Linked DNA regions of Homo sapiens: region 2 is linked to region 1. The links are contacts of gene promoters, found by promoter capture Hi-C in human tissues and cell types (Jung and others, 2019). All regions are on one chromosome and are shown on one strand. The core of a region is centred on a gene start or on the middle of the fragment in contact, and the rest is flanking DNA. Distances in the headings are between cores, read along the strand shown. Region 1 holds the start of GALNT15 (polypeptide N-acetylgalactosaminyltransferase 15). Region 2 has its middle 150 kb from the start of GALNT15.

Region 1 (3,339 bases), core at 416-2,915:
GAAAGCAACTTCACCTTGTTTTCATACCTATAGAATAAGCATGATGATACTACTAGCACCCATCTTGCAGAGCTGTGAGGACTTTCCAGGACTTTATGAGTTAATACATTAAAAGCTTGTAAAGTAAATCCAGACGCATGGGAAGAGCCCCCTAAATGTAAACTGCAATTGTTATTTTGATCCAAACTAAAAGCAAACACTAACAATAACCCTAAAATCAAAATGTAGTGGAGTCAGAGTGTTAGAACTGGCAAATGTCTGCTCTAACCTCCCTTCTGTGTTATAGAAATAAAGCCATTTGACCTAAAGACAGAAGAACTAGAACCCAGGACGGAGAAGAGAATGAACAAGCAAGAGTCCTCACTTTCTGCTTTCTAGGACAATGATTCTCACCTGAAGGGCTTGTTCATACAGACCACTGGACCCCACCCAGAGTTTCTTGTTTGGCAGGTCTGGGATGGGGTCTGAGAATCTGCATTTCTGAGAACCCACCAGTGCCCAGGGGCTGCTGACGCTGCTGGCCCAGGTACTGCATCTTGAAAAGCACTTGCTCTAAGTCAGGAGAGGCAGGCTACGGAAAGTTTGCATTCCCGAGTTTGCTACCACCCGATCATGCCCTGGGATCAGGGAAGGGAAAACAAGGGCCTTACTTACAGTGGGTGCCGCACCTCGGGCAGAGCCCTCTGGAGGGGGATGCGGGCACTGAGTGCCTCCTGGAGGCCACGTGGGTCCAGGCTGAACGGGGTCAACTCCTCTTCTTCAGACACCTCCCCGTCCTCATCAGCCCCCCAGTCCCTCTTTGGGGCTTCCTTATCCTGCCTCCTTGGCTGCTTGATGAGGCGGTAGCTCCCACCTCTCCTGCCCTGGCTCTGGTTCCTTCTGGCCTGGGGTAAGGCCACGGCCACCAGCAGCTGATCCTCCCGCAGTGAGATAAAGGGTGGCAGGCCCTCCAGAGGGCTGTACTCTTCACCCTCATCCTCAGCTTCCAGTACCCAATCCTGGGATTCCCCAAAGTCCAGGCGGTACCTGGCTTCAGGGCTGTGCTTGCTGGCTTGGGCTGTGACAGTCTGGTGCAGGGTGTGGTGGGGAGGGTGCAACATCGCCACCATCATCAGGACGCATCCCAGCATCAGGAGCAGCAGGAGGAACTGGAGTCTGCATGGTCTGTGCCTGTATCGCTTCCTTAGGAGCATGTTGCTAGAACTTGCCAAATGCAACAGGTCATGTTCAAGTTAGCTTTCTCCCGCTCCAGGCTCCTTCAAGCTTGCAGCAGAACCTGGGTTGCTTGTTCCACCTGGAAGTTTTTCTGCCAGTCACTTAACCTGGTCCTGACATTTGCCAACAGCGTGTGCAAGACCTGCTTCCACTTACAATCAGAAAACCACAGGACCCAAGTTTCACCCCAAGTCCTCTCTGAGTGGATTTCTTTAATTGCCTTCTGAAAGCCCATTCACAGGGACTTCAAATTGAATTGCTTCCCTCCCTTTACCCCGGTTTTCTCCTTGGGAAAAAAATAATGATTCCATTCTGCTCAGGTGTTTCTTTCCCCCTTTGTATAAATAGGTTGCTATGAGGTGTCTGGGATGAGCTGGTGGGTTCTCAGTCAAGCAGGGCTGACAGCCGTCCCTCTTTGGACGCTTCCAGTCAGGTCAGATCAACAGATGTAAAGCCGGCAGGCAGTGCCTGGTTTCCTTTCACACATAGCTCCACTCAGCCGAGAGCCCTCTGCCAGACACAACCCAGAGCCAAGCGTGCGCGTCACTCCTGGTCCTAATGCCCTCACTGTTCCCAGGCTTTGCACAACTCGGTGTGGTCACTGCTAGAGCCAAATCAAAACAGGAATATCCCAAGAGTTCAGAAGGAAAGACTAATACCCTCTGATTCAGAAAGGCTGTGTGTGTGGCATAGCTGCAAGGAGCTGCAGCTGTCTGTTTGCAACCTCAGCCTCCCATGGGGGATCAGGCAAACTAGGTTGGACTCTCCTTCCCTTCCTGGGGACCACTGTCCCTGGCCTCCTGAAAATGAGGGAGCTAAGGGAGATGATCTTGCAAGTCCCTTCTTCTCCCACAAGAGCAGCTGAATGCCTGCTCTGCCCTGGCCACCAAGGGGGACGCTGGAAGAGGAGTGGCATGCTCTTTCCCTCATAAAGCTTCCTTCATTTAACCAACACATAATTAATGAACACATGCTATGTGCCAAAATTGTTCTGGGAACTGGAAGTAGAGCAATGAATAACACAGACAAAAATGTGTGTCTCATGGAGCTTGCATTCTAGTGACAGATACAATTAAAACTATCCACTGGGTCAGATAGTGATGAGGATGAAGGCAAAAAAGCAGAGCAGGGATGGGGCTGGGGAGCATGGGCTGGGCTTGGAAATGGACATTGAGTGGTGGAGAAAGGTTTCATGGAAGAGTTACCATTTGTGTAAAGGAGAGGGCTGCACAGCTATTTGAGGTTGAGTGTTCGGGGCAGACAGAATGATAAATGTGAAGGTTCCAAGGCAAGAGTATGCTGGCATGTCTGAGGAACAGCCGGCATGGCTGAAGCAAAGAGAGCAGGGTGGAGCCTGATGGGAAGTGGAATAAGAGAGGCAAGGGGGCGGGGGGCAGGAGGACCATGCAGGACACCCCCTGGTTGCATTGAAGGAACTTTGGCTTTTCCTCTGAGTGAGAGGGGAGCCCTTAGAGGAGAGACACAATCTGACTTGGGTTTTAACTGGATCATTCTGGCTGCTGGGTTGAGACTAATCAGTGGGGGGCAAAAAGCAGGAGCAGGGAGACCAACCAAGAGGTTCTTGGCTTGCACTAAGTGGCATCGGTGGTGACAGGGGTCAGCTTGTGGATATACTTTAAGGAAGAACCTATAGGATTTGCTGATGAATTAATGACTAATGTGAGAGGAAGAGAAGAGTCAAGATGAGTTCAAATTTTTGTTCTGAGTAGTTGGAAGAATAGACTTGCCATTAACCAAGATGGGGAAGGAGAGAAGGTGGAAGGAGATGAATGCATGCCAGTGGCTTGATTTGGAACATGTGACATTCGAGATGTCCTCTAGACAGCTAAGAGGAGATGAAGTGAAGGCAGCAGTTGTAGGATAGCTGAAGGTCAGGGGGAGGTCTGGCCTGCATATACAAAGCTGGACTCCAGCAGCACTCAGATAGTGTTTGAAGCCGTGAGACCTGAGATCACTGAGGGAGTGAGGTAGGTAGAAGGGAGAAGAGAATCCAGCATGCTCAGTTTTCAGGCTTCTGGCTTGAACAGGTTGAAGGATAGCTGACCATCACCATGAGCAGTGTTTCTTCTGATGGCTGTAAAGCAGCCATGCTGTCTGCAACCA
Region 2 (3,339 bases), core at 418-2,917, 150 kb after region 1:
CCTTTCAGTGAGAGGTAGAATCCCCTCCCCTTGAATATAGGCTGGCTTTGGCCCAGTTTTGACCAATCAAATATGGTAGAAATGTTACTGCTGTGCAAGTTCCATGGCTGCACCTTAAGACCACCATGCTGTGAGGGAGCCCAAGTCCCTGGAGAAAGCAAGGCCATATGGAGGAACCCAAGAACGCAGAAGCAGCAGAGATGTGCATGAGGCCAAACTTAGAGCTGAGCACAGCCACTAGCTGAATGCAGCCAAATGAATGATCCCAGCTGACATCACCTGGAGCAGAAAGACCACCCAGCCAAGCCCTGAATTTGTGACCTACAGAATTGTAAGCTGATTAAATGGATTCTAAAGTCCTGACCCATGGAATCGCAGGCAAATTAAACGGTTGTTGTCTTAACCAAATAAGTTTGGGGTAATTTATTATGCAATAGATAACTACTGCAGGTTGTTACAGTGTTTAGTGATAGAGGACCTTATGGAAACTAATCTCAATAATGACTCATAGCCCCCTTAGATAAATTAAAAATAAAATCATCAGCAGTCTGAGTGAGAAGTAGCAGAGAGGGAATTCAGAGACGATGACTCAATTAGTCTGTCTCTTAAAAACAGGAGTTTTCTATTTGGTTTCCCAGGGCTCCCTGTTATAAAGGGGGCACTGGCTTTATTAATAGAGCAGCTCACATGAATAAGCCAATGTTTCTAAATTCCTTCTCTTCAACTGCACCTCCCTCTCCCCGTCTCCACCACCACCACCACCAATTCCTTGCTTGAGAGTTATTCTGTAAGTTTTGACACATGAATATAGTATCATGCAAACAAAAGGGCATTTTCAAGACAATGTATTTAACTGAAAAACCACATTTTAGAGTTTTCACGTGGTCTTCTTGACCTTGATGAAAAAGTAAATGCAGGAAAATTCCAATGCTATCTATCTACTTGGCTCTGCAGTGAACTCCCTGGAACTTTCTCCCCTGAGTCCCACTGTCAATGAAAGGGAAGCAAGGATTAGCTGATGAATGTGGCTTCTAGCATGGAGGAAACTGATGTCTACTCCAAAATGCCTCAATAATGTTTGTGACTTAGAGTCAGCCTCAGATTCTTTGTCTTAAATGGAATATACTTCATTAAACAAATATTTATTGACTTCCTATTATATGCCATGCACTATTCTAGACAAAATAGGCACAAAAGACAAAAATCTATGTCCTCTTACTGCTTACATTTCTACTTGGGAGGGACAAACTATAAATATGATAAATATATAAATTATATGTTATGCTAGAAGATGATGCATTCTATGGAAATAATAGAACAGGATGACGAGGAACAGCAATAGAGAGGAAGAAGGCAGTTTGCAGCACTGCATAGTACCATACATGCCAGGGTGGACCTCGCTGAGAAGGTGATGTTTGCACAGATATGAAGGAGGTGAGCGAGTGAGCCACATGGATATCGGGGGGAGAGTGTCTTTGGCAGATAAACAATGAGGGGAAAGGCCTTGAGGCGAGAGGTGCCTGATGAGTTCAAAGAACAACAAGATTATTGTGTCTGCTGAGGAATGAGGGAGGGAGTGAATAGTAGGAAATGAGATATATAAAGGGCTGGGGGGATAGGAGCTGATCATGTAGAGCCTTTAGCCATTGGAAGGCTTTGGCTTTACCTCTGGTGGAAGGGAGAGCCACTGGAGAGTTCTGAGCAAAAGAATGGCATTTTCTGATGTACCTTTTAACAGAATCCCTCTAGCCTCTGAATTAAGAATAGATTTGAGGCCGGGCGCAGTGGCTCACACCTGTAATCCTAGCACTTTGGGAGGCCAAGGCAGGCAGATCACAAGGTCAGGAGTTCAAGACCAGCCTGACCAATATGGTGAAACCCCATCTCCACTAAAAATACAAAAATTAGCCAGGCATGATGGTATGCACCTGTAATCCCAGCTACTCAGGAGGCTGAGGCAGGAGAATTGCAGGAGAATTGCTTGAACCCAGGAGGCGGAAGGTTGCAGTGAGCTGAGATCGCGCCACTGCACTCCAGCCTGAGCTAAAGAGCGAGGCTCAAAAAAAAAAAAAAAAAAAGATTTGCAGGAGGCCAGGACAAAAGCAGAGTCTAGTTCAACAGTCCAGGGAAGAGACAATGATCTAGGCTTGATTTCTTTTTCTTATTGTGGGCTCTCTCAAGTCAATGGCAAATAAAAATAAAACTTGAGGGAAAGGACAAGGGCAAGGTAAATTATTTTTCCTGTTTTGTTTGACATGTCTACCCTGTGCTAGGCTGTGGCTGGAGGCTGGACAGGTCCCAGCTGACCTTTCTTGGAGTTTATGACTGACGGGAGAGAGGTAGTGAGGGAGAAAAGACAACTGTTTGCTTGCTTCCAAGCTTGTTTGTTGGCAACTGCTCATCTTAGAAAAGTGGCTGGCCAGCTGAGGGAAATCTGATCCTTGGCTGGACGTATATTTTGGGGAGATGGGTGATTGTGCACTTTTTGAACAGGAAACTCAGCCAGCCAGTCAATAATGACTGGGTTTTAAAACTGAAAATACTTCCCGACTAGAGGACTGGTATCCAGTTCCCTCCAAAAGGATGTGGGGAGGAGCCTGCAGCCAGGGCACACAGGAGGATGCAAGGGCTGGAAGGAGAGTAAGTTCTCCTGGGCTTTTGATGTTCCACTGTCACTTCCCTCACATATGATGCATGGAAAATCCAGTGCCTGCCACATTCAAGGAATTATTCAATGAATGTTATAAAGGAAACAGGAAGGATTGGCCACTGTGCATCACCCAAGACACATGTCAAATACTGGGAATGATATGATTACCAGGTGACTCGTCTTGTTCCTCTAAACACATGGAACCCCCAGACAAATCTACTCCATCAAGGGCTTTTATGGGTTGTGGTATTGGAAATCAAAGCTTGCTGTATTTTATACAGACCTTTAGGAACCTTAAGAAGATTTAAATTTTAAAAGATGATGTATAGTACTGACCATTGTGCCTTTTCTAAGTATGTGACTTCCTCCTTTTCTTTTTTTTCTTCCCCACCCACTGCCTTCAAGACTCTCACTGTTTCTTTTAACCAACACCTTTGGGTACCTCCTATGTACCAAGCATGGAACTCAGCTCCAGATGTTCAGAACTGAGTAATTCAAAGCCCCTGCCCTTCAACTGTATTTGTTCTAGGAAGGAGAAGGAACTTCACAGAACCCTAATGCATTGTGAACAAGGGCTATGACAAAGAACCCCAAAGAAGGGATAGATTTGTCCCTGAATTGGGTCTTGGAGGGTGAGATAAATAGGGAAGTATATTCATGGCAGAGTAAATAACAGCTAATAGTTACAA

What was found. The method cuts DNA at HindIII sites, captures the fragments that hold promoters and counts their contacts. A contact is called where the count stands out against the background at its distance.
Region 2: a contact is called between a fragment that was not itself captured here and the fragment with the promoter of GALNT15 in region 1, in 4 of the 25 tissues and cell types used here (aorta, hippocampus, pancreas and 1 more).

Annotation. Positions count from the first base shown.
Region 1 is chr3:16,173,006-16,176,344 of GRCh38, reverse strand. It overlaps GALNT15 (polypeptide N-acetylgalactosaminyltransferase 15), which reads right to left and starts at 1,665. Exons shown (of 10, transcript NM_054110.5): 1 at 655-1,665. The coding sequence starts at 1,193. The HindIII fragment of the contact is 4,561 bases long and covers 690-3,339 here.
Region 2 is chr3:16,026,057-16,029,395 of GRCh38, reverse strand. No RefSeq gene overlaps it. Among named protein-coding and RNA genes, the nearest start is that of GALNT15, 150 kb to the left of the region's middle. The HindIII fragment of the contact is 5,694 bases long and covers 1-3,339 here.